Regions from separate parts of the Homo sapiens genome. Here region 2 is linked to region 1. The links are contacts of gene promoters, found by promoter capture Hi-C in blood cells and fetal thymus (Javierre and others, 2016). All regions are on one chromosome and are shown on one strand. The core of a region is centred on a gene start or on the middle of the fragment in contact, and the rest is flanking DNA. Distances in the headings are between cores, read along the strand shown. Region 1 holds the start of BCAR1 (BCAR1 scaffold protein, Cas family member). Region 2 overlaps LOC105371348 (a long non-coding RNA gene).

The links. The method cuts DNA at HindIII sites, captures the fragments that hold promoters and counts their contacts. A CHiCAGO score of 5 or more calls a contact.
Region 2: a contact is called between a fragment that was not itself captured here and the fragment with the promoter of BCAR1 in region 1, in 2 of 17 cell types (total B cells and naive CD8 T cells). The highest score is 6.1, in total B cells.

What each region holds. Positions count from the first base shown.
Region 1 is chr16:75,249,658-75,256,144 of GRCh38, forward strand. It overlaps BCAR1 (BCAR1 scaffold protein, Cas family member), which reads right to left and starts at 1,967. Exons shown (of 7, transcript NM_014567.5): 1 at 1,814-1,967. The coding sequence starts at 1,825. LOC105371344 (a long non-coding RNA gene) reads left to right here and starts at 6,141. Exons shown (of 3, transcript XR_933740.3): 1 at 6,141-6,487. RefSeq lists silencers at 1,850-2,009, 2,070-2,179 and enhancers at 2,179-2,719, 3,260-3,800, 3,801-4,340, 4,341-4,881, 5,421-5,961 and 1 more. The HindIII fragment of the contact is 27,287 bases long and covers 1-6,487 here.
Region 2 is chr16:75,768,972-75,775,458 of GRCh38, forward strand. The region is part of intron 2 of LOC105371348 (a long non-coding RNA gene); the gene reads left to right. Among named protein-coding and RNA genes, the nearest start is that of CPHXL, 46 kb to the left of the region's middle. The HindIII fragment of the contact is 1,456 bases long and covers 2,844-4,299 here.

The DNA of each region.
Region 1 (6,487 bases), core at 717-3,216:
TGGGCTCCTGGGGGCAAGGGAAGGAGTTGTCCAGGCTCAGAAGAAAAGGGTGGTAGGACCTCCTAAAGGGACAGCAGATGCCAGGAGAGGGCCGCAAAGGCACAGCGTTGGAACCAGAGGGTTCCTACCAAGTTGACAACTCCAAAAGAGCATGGTGGTCCCCCAAGGACCAGAGCTCCCCCAATCCCAGACTGGGAATTCGGAGGCCACATGTGGTGCTGCACTGGGGGGCCATGCCAGAAGACGAGGTTCTGGATCCAATTCTGAGGACAACTGACTGTCTCTCTGTACCTCAGTGTCCCCATCTGCACCATCCGTATAATGGGAAAGGGGTTTGAGGAGCTGTCTCAGGGCCCCTCCTGTACAGACAGGAGGCCCTAGTGGCACTGTCCTTATTTCCATCCCTCGCCTAGACCTGGGGCCATGGTACCAGTACACAGTGCTCACCCTCCTGCTCAGACAAACAGTAACGGCCAGAAGCTCCAAGCCTCCTGCCCCAGCCCAAGGTGACTTTCCTGGCAGAACCTGGGACTGCCCTGCCCTGCCCTGCCTCCACCCAGCTCCCGGGCAAGCAGTGCCAGGAGGAAGTGTCAGCAGCTCCTCCCCAAAGCTCTTTTCCCCACAGCCCCGCCACCCCCGTACCTGGGCCCCGATTCTCCAGGCACCCCGACACCTGCTCTCACAGGCCGGCCAGCCCCCACCACCCAACTCTCCACCGAGGGAAAGGAATGGGCACAAGAGGGGGCGTGTCCCGGCCCAGGGCGATGGGAAACATCTCACTAGCAAAGAAGAGATCAACCCATGGTCATTCTGAGAAGGTGACCAAAGCTGCGGCGGGCCCCGGGAGGGGTGTGGGAAAGGAAACCAGGGACTCTCAGGAGGGAACGGGAGCCTTGTGGTAGAAAAGGAGCTGCTGTCCCCGATCTGGAACTCGAAACCCCAACATCTTCCAGGCCGTAAGCCCCTCACCCCGCACCCCTAGGCAAATCTCCGCTTTCCCAACTCCCTCACCTCGGTCCAGCGATCAGCCTCTCGGACCCTCGAGAGGGAGCTCCGACCCTGCTCTAGCTCTTGCGGGTCCCCCAACCATGGACTCCAAAGCCTTCATGTCCACACTGCAGAACCCGGCCCTGGCCCCCTCCCGCGACACTCGCGTGCGGCTAGGACTCCTGTGGCCAGGACCCGGCTTCCACCGGCGCTCGGCGTGCGGGGCTGCAAAGCCCGCGGCGCGCCCGCCCCCACTCCCGCTCCGCTCCCGGAACCCCGCGCCGGCGGCCGGAGTGAATCATTAACTGGAGCCGGGTGCTCCGGCTGCGCAGCCTTCCCCGCTGGCGCCACGCACTTGCCCGCCCGGCCTCGGTCCCCCGGAGCTCCTCCCTCTCCGGGAGCCGGTGGGCAGTCCCCACGCCACACCAGCCGGACCACCCGCCAGAGGCTCAACGGCCCCTCCTCGCAGCCGAGGAAACTGAGGCTCGGAGGCAGGGCGCAGAGGCCCAAGGTGACACAGCAGGCGGCCGTCGGCCGGGGAGCGCGGGCCCCGCCAGCCACTTTCCCGACACAGGAACCCTCCTACCGGCTGGCGGCCCCCGCGCCCGGCCCCGCCAACGCACCCGAGGCGCACAGGCTCCGGAGCCCCCGCGGTTCCTGCCTCCCGGCTTCCCGGCCAGGGCAGAAGGAGATCCCAGGGCCGCGGACCCCGGCCGGCGGTTCCCAGGCCCCGCAGGTCCGGCAGGAAATGCCGCTCGCTTAACCCCTTCCAGCCCGCTGCCGCCTCCAAGCCCGTACGCGGCCCGGCCCCACCTGGCGCCCTCACCAGGTGGTTCATGGTGTCCGGCGGGCCTGGGGCCCCGGCTCTCGCGGGGGCGCACACCGAGCTGCCCGGGCCGCGTGCCCTCGGGGCTCCGAGCGCGCCGCAGCCGCCCCGGTGCCGCCGCGCAGCTGCCGCCTCGGCCACCCAGAGCCGGTCCAGCCGCTCTCCGCCTGCCGCCACGGCCCAGCCGGCCCAGCCCGATCCCAGCATGCCCGGCCGCGCGCGCCCATTGGCCGCCGCCGCTCTCCATGCAAATAAGCCGCCTGTCGGGGGCGCGGGCGCGCAGACAGAAGCCCGCCCAGTAGGGGCCGCCCCCCGCCCCGCCCCCCACCTCCAACCCCGAGGCTCCAGGCCCCTGCCCGAGGCCAGGCTTCCAGCCTAGGGCGCAGGACACCGCTCTCCAACAAATGCACGTCCCCGCCTTCCACCCAGGCGAGAACGCACCGAAGGCCTACGCAAACTCCTCCACTTCTGGGAAGGCTGCCCGGTTTGCCTTCTTCCTCCAGAGCCGAGACATGGCCTCAAGTCGACTTGTCTTTCCCGCTAACCAACCCCAGGGCATTCATCGCGTGTCCATGGGCCGTGGGACTCAAATCTGAATCTAGAGGGAAAGGGGAGGGGGCGTGCCCCAGCCTGTAGGAGACGAATCATCACCACCACAGCTCCGACTGTAGACGGTCCCACCGTGTAAGGACCCCAGGAAATGAAGCCTCAAGCAGGGAGGCTGGCGAGCTCTCGACCCAGCGCTTTTCACGGGCAGCACCTACCTTCCCCTGCATTGTGCCGACATCTGGGGACTCGGGCTGGTCCTCCAGCTGATCTGCCTCCTCTCATTACTCATTCCTAGGTTCAGCCTAAAACCTGGGCCTAGTACCCTCCTGAGTCCTGCTCCAACTCATCTGCTTCAGCGACATGGGGTAGGAGAGCGGCACTGGGGGAATGAGGGAGATAGAAGGAAGAATCACTCGGGGGAAACCGAGTGGAGACAACCTTGGCTCTCCTGAGTTGCCCCTTGCTCGGTTGCAGGTCAGTGACTGTCACCCCATGCAGCAGAACCAGGGTGCCAGAGCCCCTGGGCCAGGCCAGGGAGGCACAATCTGCAGGGAGATGATAGGACCGAGCCTGGTCCAGACCAGACAGGACCCTCAGTCAACAATCCTGGGCCACTGGCTGAGCAATGGGATGCCACGAGGCAGCCCTGGTGGCAGGGAAGCAGCGGGGTAGACCCGGCTTCACGCAGCAGAGAATTCTCAAGCATGGCCTATGGAAGACACAAGCCCAGGTGGGCCTGCAGCTGCCCCTCTGTCTGACCCCCAGGGCTCAGCCTACGCAGCGCCTGGCCAGATGTGCCACCTTGGCAGGCCCTCTCCCCTCTCTGGGCTCCTTTCTCATCTGAAAAGGGGCTAGGACAGCCCATGATTTGCTGCTCAGGTGCTCTGGGGAGCTAGTTAAAAAACAGACTCCTGTGTCCCACCCCTCCCAAAAAACTGGACGTCTGCATTTCTTCAATATTTGGCTTGGGAAGCATTGGCCAGAACTCACAGCACAGCGGGTGAGGAAGGAGCAGTGGGATGAGACAGAGCATGACCCAGAGTCCTCAGGAGGAACAGAACAGCTAGCCAACACCCTGTGCCTCCCCGACACAGCCCGCCTCGCCTCAGAAGAGGAGCCAGCCTTCAGGGAAGCTGCCTGGAGCATCTCCTCCTGCTTGTTCCCAAGAGCTGTGCCGGGCCCCTCCTGCACCCTGACCCTGTCCAGCCACCCACTCCTCAGCCTGGCTGGCACACCAGCTTCCCAGAGAGCAGGTCTGAACCAGCGGGACCCTCAGGAGCCTGAGGTCATCCCTGGGCCTCCACTTCTGTGGGGAGGGGAGACCAGGCCTCATGGGCAGGCAGTGCCCTGCTGGCAGGGCCCCAGGCAGCAGTCTCTGCAGGGACGGGCAAGGACACAAAAGGCCTGGCCCTCAAGGGAGCTGGCCCCTGCTCCATCCTAGTTGGCCAAGGAGGGCGGTGCAGAGAGGAGGTGGATGGCTGGAACCTTGGGGGATGAGACCCTCCTCCCCCAGTAGCTGCATTAGAACAGCACTGGGGGTGGGGCTGCTGGTGTGAGCAGGAGGCAGCAAGGGAAACAGGCTCCGACACAGGCATTTCAAAAATTTGCTCCTTTTCCACTTAAATTCCCTCCCCCAAAAGCCTGTGCCTCCCAGAATGGCATTTCCGCTTTGGAAACAAGGCCCCAGAAGTTAAGCCCCACAGTGTTGATGGGGATGTAGCTGGGGGGTGGGGGAGGAGCACCCACTGGCCAGGCTCTGGCCGGGGTATATGGGGGCAGAACCTCACCCCACCCCCAGTCCAGCCTCCCGGACCTCCGCTGTCAAGGACAGGGATGCAGCCCCACATACCCAGCACAGCCTCTGCGCCCAGCCAGTGCCAGGGGCCCTATGCCCATGCATTTATTTTGTGCACACAGCAATCCTGCAAAACAGGCTCACCGTTAGCCCCAATTTTTTTTTTTTTTGAGATGGGGTTTCACCATATTGGTCAGGCTGGTCTCGAACTCCTGACCTCAAGTGATTCACCCACCTCAGCCTCCCAAAGTGCTGGGATTATAGGCGTGAGCCACTGCACCCAGCCTAGCCCCATTTTTCACATGAAGAGACCGAGACCCAGTTTACCAACCACTGCCCCATCCCACACATTTCGGGGCACAGAAGGGACAGGGCCAGGGAAGAAATGGGGCTGCTAGACCTCAGCCCACCCTGCAGCAGGAAGGGAATCTAGGGACAGGGACAGCAGCACTCCAGGCTCAGAAAGCCAAACACCCCTGTCACACTCAGACTGCAAAAGGACAGGCAACTGAGACCTAAGCACCTTCCTCCCCAGTAAAACTGAGCTCAGCACTGGGGCCAGCACCACCCCCACCCCACTAAGTTTAGCCCCATTGGTGAGAAGGGGTGCAGTAAACATTTGTTGACTGGGTGGGACCTCAGAGGTGGCCCTCATGGGATAGGCTGGCCTGGGTGAAGAAATCTGAGGCTGCCCCAGTCTGGAGGATGGGGGTGGTTAAGTCACGCCTAAGTGCAGAGGCACACACTTGCATACACACAGCACACACGCATGCGTATACACACAGTGGGACTGGCAGCAAGGAGAGACGCCCTGAATAAGGAGGAGCTGGGAGAGGTTGTTGCCAGACCAAGGGAGACAGCTGCAGATATGTGGCCGGGGCACCAGCACAGGGCCCTCCCAGACAGTTGTGTCATCCCAGGAGTGGCCTGGCACCTCCAGCCAGGTTGAAGATGAGCTCACAGGCTGGAAGGGATGTCTCCAACCCCTCAGGGCCTGGAATAGCTGTTTGTACAGAAAACAGGTGGACCCAGCACACCAGGACACTAAGTGTCTGGAGTGGAGGGGGTTATACTGGACCCAAGTGGAAAGATAAGCCTGGGATAGGGTTCCTGCTCTTTGGGCTTTCTGAGATCTGCCTTCAGGACAGACCCACTGCACAGAACTTTTCTTGCTCAATGCTCACCAATGTCCACTGCAGCATTTATGACAGCAAAGCATGGAGCAAAACAGGCTCACCTATCAATGCTAATTCTAGGGGACCGGTGAGACAAACCACAGCGCCTCAGTAGAATAGCTTGCAGCTATTAGATGGCCTCTTCCAAAGACTGAAATAATGCAAGAAAATGCTTACAACAAACTAAAGTGAAAAGAGCAGGCTAAAACCAGTTTGCACAGTGTAAAGGCACACAGCCCCCTCCCCTCCTGAAGCCTCGGCCTCCCAGCAGCAGGGAGGGTGGACTCGGTTGATGGCCAGCTCTGGGAGCGGCAGCAGGAGAGGATTTCCTGAGGCCGGAGGTGAGCACTGCCAGCCCCAGGAACAGGAAGAAACGGTATCTCTGGAGGGCCAATGAGAGCTGACACCATCCCCCTAGGCTGGACACTCACAGTGGCAAGCTCAAAACCAAGGCAAGGCTGGGCAAGGTGGCTCACGCCTGTAATCTCAGCACTTTAGGAGGTCGAGACTAGCCTGTCCAACATGGCGAAACTCCGTCTCTACTAAAAATACAAAAATTAGCTGGCCGTGGTGGCGGGCACCTGTAATCCCAGCTACTCAGGAGGCTGAGGCAGGATAATTGCTTGAACCAGGAGGTGAAGCAGTGAGCTGAGATCACGCCACTGTACTCCAGCCTGGGCGATAGAGCAAGGCTCCATCTCAAAAAAAAAAACAAAAAACAGCTGGGCACAGTGGCTCACGCCTGTAATCCCAGCACTTTGGGAGGCCAAGGCGGGCAGATCATCTGAGGTCAAGAGTTCAAGACCAGCCTGACCAACATGGTGAAACCCCGTCTCTACTAAAAATACAAAATTAGCCGGGCGTGGTGGCACATGCCTGTAATCCCAGCTACTCAGGAGGCTGAGGCTGGAGAATCACTTGAACCCGGGAGGCGGAGGTTGCAGTGAGCCAAGATGGTGCCATTGCACTCCAGCCTGGGCGAGAGAGCGAAACTACGTCTCAAAAAAACAAAAACAAAACCCAGGCGAGGGCACGGAACCTTTGTGGATAGCACGGAGGTGAACCTACTGTCACACACAGAACGGACAGCCCACACCCCAACACCAGTCATTCCTCACTGCTGCCCTGGGACCAGGACGGAACGACGGCTACCTG
Region 2 (6,487 bases), core at 2,322-4,821, 520 kb after region 1:
TTTTCTTTGTTCTTTTTCTTTTCTGTTCCTCAGACTGGATAATTTCAATTGACCAATTTTGAAATTTGTTGATTTTTTATGTCTTTTCATATCTGTTACTGAGAACCTGTAGTGAATTTTTCTTTTCTGTTATTAAGCTTTTCAATTTTATAACTTTTATTTTAAAGTTGAATTTTATAATTTCCATCTCTTTATTGATGTTTTCTGTTTGGTTAGACATTGTTCTCATACTTCTTTAGGCACACTCTCCTTTTGGTCTTTGGGCATATTTAGACTAAATGATTTAAAGTCTTTTCTAGTAAGTCCAATATCTGGGCTTCCTTTAGGACAAATTCTATTGATTGTTTATTTTTATGTATGTGTGTTGGCAGTACTTTATTTCTTTGCATGACTTATAATTTTTTACATTATTGAAACCTGGACATTTTAATAGGTATTATGTGGCAAGTTTGGAAATCAGATTTTCCTACATGTCCATGGCTTGTTTTTATTGTTGCTTATTGGTTATTGTTACCTGTTTGCGTACTTACGTTTCTTTTTTTTTTGAGACAGAGTCTTGCTCTGTTGCCCAGGCTGGAGTGCGGTGGTGCGATCTTGGCTCACTGCAAGCTCCGCCTCCCGGGTTCACGCCATTCTCCTGCCTCAGCCTCCTGAGTAGCTGGGACTACAGGTGCCCACCACCATGCCCAGCTAATTTTTTTGTATTTTTAGTAGAGACAGGGTTTCACCATGTTAGCCAGGAAGGTCTCGATCTCATGACATTGTGATCCACCCACCTCGGCCTCCCAAAGTGCTGGGATTACAGGCATGAGCCACCGCGCCCGGCTCTTACTTACATTTCTAAGGCAATTCAGTAAAGTTTGTATTCTTTGTCATGTATGGGCATTGATGCCACTACTCAGTTAGCTTAGTGGTTAGCTAGTAATTAGACAGGTTTCCTTAGAGGTCTGGAATCAATAAATCTTTCATTTGCTGAAGGGCTCTCTGTGCATGTTGGGTCATGTCCTCAAAACTTAGGCAGCTTGTAACTCCATCTAAGCCTTTTCTTACTGCCTACATAGATCCTCAAGGTAAGCAGAGATGAGAGCTGAGGGCCTTTCCAGGTCTTCCCTGAGCTTGTGTACTATCCTGGGAGTACACATGGTCATTTAGATCCCTGAGATTTTGTCAGAGCCTTCTGATGTCCTTCTAGACATCTTATTTTCAAACTTCTATTTTATTTTCAAGGTTTTTGGTTAGTCCTTTGTTTGCCTCAGCTGTTGTTAATCTCCTCAGGCAGCCACAAAGTTAAAACACTTGCCTGTAATTGTCTCCAAAAATAACATCACCTGACAGAAATCCTCTGAAGTGAGTGAGCTCCAAGGCAGCCTCTTAATGAGTTTTTCAAGAGAACCACCAGACAAATAAGAAATGATAATATTGGCTGGGTGCAGTGGCTCATGCCTGTGGTCCCAGCACTTTGGGAGGCCAAGGCAGGTGGATCACGAGGTCAGGGGATCGAGACCATCCTGGCTAACATGGTGAAACCCTGTCTCTACTAAAGGTACAAAAAGCTGGCTGGGTGTGCTGGCAGGCATCTGTAGTCCCAGTTGCTCGGGAGGCTGAGGCAGGAGAATGGCGTGAACCTGGGAGGCAGACCTTGCAGTGAGCCAAGATCGTGCCACTGCACTCCAGCCTGGGCGACAGAGCAAGACTGTGTCTCAATAAAAAAAAAAAAGAGATAATATTTTGGGAATTATACTTTGAAAGAGCTTCATCTCTATTCTGGTCCCACTGATGACTGCTAGGCAGCACCAGCAATGCAGATGAGTATTTTTCAAGGCTTTTTCTGAGCTAGAGAGTGGGGGGTGGGACCAGGGAAAGTTAAAATGTCACAAAGCTAACTTTTCTTACAGCCATCCAGCCATTTTTCTTGAGTAAACTCTCCCCAGGTCATGGGAAGCTTTTAATTCTTTTTTTTTTTTAAATTTCTACATCCACTTCAGTCACACAAAATCTTTTGATTCATTTCTGGAGATCTGAAAAAGGTAATTCTGACCATTTAAATAATTTTTTCATTGCTTTTATGGAAGGGTGAATTTTTGAGGGTCCCTGCTCTGCCATTTTTGCTGATGTTACCACCATCAAGATTTTCTTCAGCAGGGGTCTGCAAATCTTTCCTAGAAAGGTACCAATTGTAAATGCTTTAGGTATTGTGCTTCAGATTGTGTTTGTCACAGCTACTCAACACTGCCATTGTAGTACAAAAATAGCCATTGTAAGTATATAAATAAATGGCTGTGTTTCAATAAAACATTATGTATAGAAAAGTCACAGACTGGATTTGGCCCAAGGATCATATTTTGCCAACCCCTCTTTTTAAAGATAAAAAACAACCTTAGAATCCTTCTCAGACCACACTGCTCTTTAGTCATCTTCTTTCTGTTCTCACAGAGGTTGTTTTTCTTCCAACTGAGATACACTAAGATGTTTAAACATTTAAGACATATTTAATTCTGCATTTTTACTATAATTCAGAAAATTTGTTTTTGTTGCTTTCAATTTTTATTTACATTTCCCCCCTGAATTTACATTATTACTGCAACCAGAGAACCAAATCAAAATAAATTGATTCATTATCCTCCAGAATATGGGTTATGTATTAGATTCCAAAGGAAGTAAAACAAGTTTAAAATATACAAAGTTTCAATTAACTTTATTTTTGTAGAGTGTAGAACACTGTCTTACTTACATAAACTATCCAGTGGTTAAAAAAAGGTGCTGATCAGGAAATGGAGAGTGAATGGGAGCATTAATGGGAATATGTAGAAAGAAATCTTACACTAAATAAAATATCCAATAGAAGCTTTGATTGGAGACCACAAGAGGCCATATATCTTTTGAGTCAAAGAGAAAACTCTTGGGGTTAAAAAGAATACAGTTAATTTCTATATCACTGATATATAGTAGATTACCAAAAAAGGTAATGCAGAGTGAAAAATAAATTCTAATAGAATCCCAGTGAACTGTAAGGTAGGAGGTATCTTATCTCTAGGTAGGTAGCTGCTTACCAGGTATATTTTGATGACTACTAAGAAGAGCCTGTAGATGTCCTTCTACTTCAGCTCTTCCTGTGATTTCATAAATACTTATTTCACAGGCCTTTTCCTGATGAGTAAAATAATGCAATATATGTGTAATTTTTTGCTGTCTATGATCATCTTCTTCCTGATTCCTAGTTTGATTTAGACTTCCAAGAAGTTAGAATGTACAAGACATTGGGTCCCAGTAGAAAGAAAATGACAGATGTAAGTAATGGTGAAAAAAAGGGAAGTAAAATGACATTAGAGGAAGATAATCCCATATCACAATTTTGCCTGTGGTCCTTCTAGTAGTTGAATTTCTTTGTCTCTTAGGTTTGCATTTGCTATCCTTGTCACTATCTTCTTCTCCTTCTCCTCCTCTTCTTCTTCCTCCTCCTCTTCTTCTTCTTCTGAAAGAAAGAAAGAAAGAAACATGGCTATATAGTGTTGGAGCAGCCCTTCCACTGAAAACAACTATAAAAGAAGGAAGAACTATGAGTTTTTGATGGGATAGCAGAGCTACCAAAGCAGTAAAGATTTGATGAAACAAATTCCCAGAAAGAAGGTAATCCTAGGATTTGAGCTCAATATTTGGCATAACTTATATCTTCAACGCATTTGCTGATAGAGAAAGCAGGAGCTGGAGATTTCAGCTGAAAACCAGAGCAGAAAGCAGTAGCCAGCATCCGAGCAGAACATTTGCCAGTTTCACAAAACTGGAGAGATGAATATTGAAGATCACAGCTAGACAAAGACTACAAATAATGTAAAGTCTTTAATAGTCTTTAACAAACAATGTAAAGACTTTACAAATAATGTAAAATGTTCAAGAAATTAAATGATCAAATAGAACATTTAAACAGGAACTGGAATTTTTATTCCAGTAATTGGATTTTTTATTCAATCCAATAAAAAGGATTGAATACCAAGTCTAGAACTGAAATATGCAGTAACTGAATATTAAAAATTCAATGGATGAATTTAACAACAGATTAGATGTAGCTGAAATGAGAAAATTAGCAATTTGGAGGATAAATCTAAGAAATATACCAATAGAGAAAGGAAGAGGCAAAGTAATGGAAGATAAAAGACCAAAGAGAGAATGAAAGGTCTAACATATATGTTATTATAATCCTTGAAAAAGAGGAGAGAAACCATAAAAAAGAAAGAAATCTTGTATCTGAAAATCTACATGCTGCTACTATCAAGTTATTTGTTTGTAAGTGTATTACTCTTAAGCTTTAGAGCACTTTACACAAGTTTTATAATACCTTCCAATATTTAAATTTTTAGTATTTTAATGTTAAGTAGATTTTTGTCTTTAACCTATTCTAATTATTTATAGTAGATTAAAAATAATTGCATAATGAAAATATATTGTTTTACATTGAAAAGTCATGGATAATTAAAAAGAATTATAAATTAAACACTAAAATTATTAAAATGCAAAAGTTTCTTCCTTTTTAATTTTTTTTTCTGAGACAGGGTCTTATTCTGTTGCCCACGCTGGAGGAGTGCAGTGGTCCTATCATGGCTGACTACAGCCTTGACCTTCTGGGCTCAAGTGATCCTCCCATCTCAGCCTCTTGAGTAGCTGGAACCACTGGCACATGCCACCATGCCCAGCTAACATTTGTTTTTTTTCATACAGATGGGGTTTTGCTATGTTGTCCAGGCTGGTCTCAAACTCCTGAGCTCAATTGTCCCACCTTGGCCTTCCTAAGTACTGGGATTACAGGTGTGTGCCACCACACCCAGACATTTTTAAAAAATTAAATTAAATTTATTATTTTTTTTTGGTAGAGATGGGGTTCTCACTTTGTTGCCCAGGCTGGTTTTGAACTCCTGACCTCAAGTGATCCTCCTGCTTTGGCCTCCCAAAGTGTTGGAATTACAGGCATGAGCCACCAATCCAGGCCCAGGCAAAAGTTTCTAAATAAAATTTGGCTACATTTTATGTCTGAGTACGTAGAGTTTTGTTGCTGCTGTTGTCATCCATGGTGGGGGGTTAACAACTCACAAAAACTACTACTTATAAAATTATCAGCTATACAATTATTGGACAAAATATATTATTTCACTCTATACATAAACAATTCATTAGAACTTGAAGGAATTGTAGAATATGGAAGAGATGCTTCTGCTGAAATAAGGAGAATGTGAAATACCTCCTCATGGAATGCTGTCATTTTCACTTATCAGTTCCAAATATTAGGAAAGAAAACTCTGAGTAGATTATAGTCTGATACATAATGGCATAATGATAGCTGTTAAATAAAGAAACCACATGTAATTATCAAATTTTGCATGAGTCAGTTGCTTTTCAGTCTCACTAGAGCTGAAATAAAAGTATTTTAAGTCTCTTTCATTTCCCATTTTGACCCTGGGATGTACTCATTTGCCCGGCAAGAAAATTTCCCCTAAATGACTCTAAATGGAGAGATGAGGGACAAAGGGAAAGCAAATACAAAGATATATAACAAATAGCTTGGATTATACATGAAATAATTAACAAGCCAATGTTCCCCAGAACTGGCAATCCACTCACAGAACAAGAATTCACATGTGCATTTGACAAATAATACAACCAATTATGCGTAAGTCTGTGCTAGATCCATTTAGACTCACAGATACAGGCATTTAATGAAATGTGGAAGATATTAGTTGTAACTTCTATCCAAAGCCTAAATCCTGTGGAATATTCCAGGCCCATGGGTAATGGGAATCTACTTGAAAGCATCCAGTGATCAGAAACACACTAGCTCACTTTCAGATGGAGTTATTTTTGCAAAGTTAGAGATAGTGTAATAATACATGCCTCCCTGAAATTTTCAAATGTTGGTCTTTGTTTTCTTTCATGAAGCTATGCAAAAATTGTATAGTTCCTATTTAAAATAGCATACTTTCTGAGATCTGTAAACAGATATCATGATCTTAAGTCTTGCTTTCTCTAGGCCAAATATATTTGCTTTTAAAAATTAATATTCATATAATTCAGTTTTTGGGCAGTTCAATATCTGGCTAACTTTATCCTAGATTCATCCAAGTTTGTCAGCATCATTTGTAAAACAAAGTGCTGACATTTAAACACAATACTCTGTCCAGTTTTATTTCTCTTTCTCCAACTAGATGATAAGATCCTAAAGGAATTGGAGGAGAGGAGACTCCTTGTAATGAACAGAATTAATGAGAATCTGGAAGATCTTGGTAGTAAATTAATGAAGGTCTATGTATTTTTCTCTCAAAATGAAGAAATAAAAATATCAGAAATTTAAACAAAGAAACTGCTTACTTAGTTTATTATCAAAATAAGAATATAGTATAATGTGGCATAATTTTGAATAATCTATGGAGAGGAAGAGTAGAAGCTCCATTTGATTAGATTCTAAGAACGTTCCCCATCAAGGGAGTGTGTTGGACTTCTG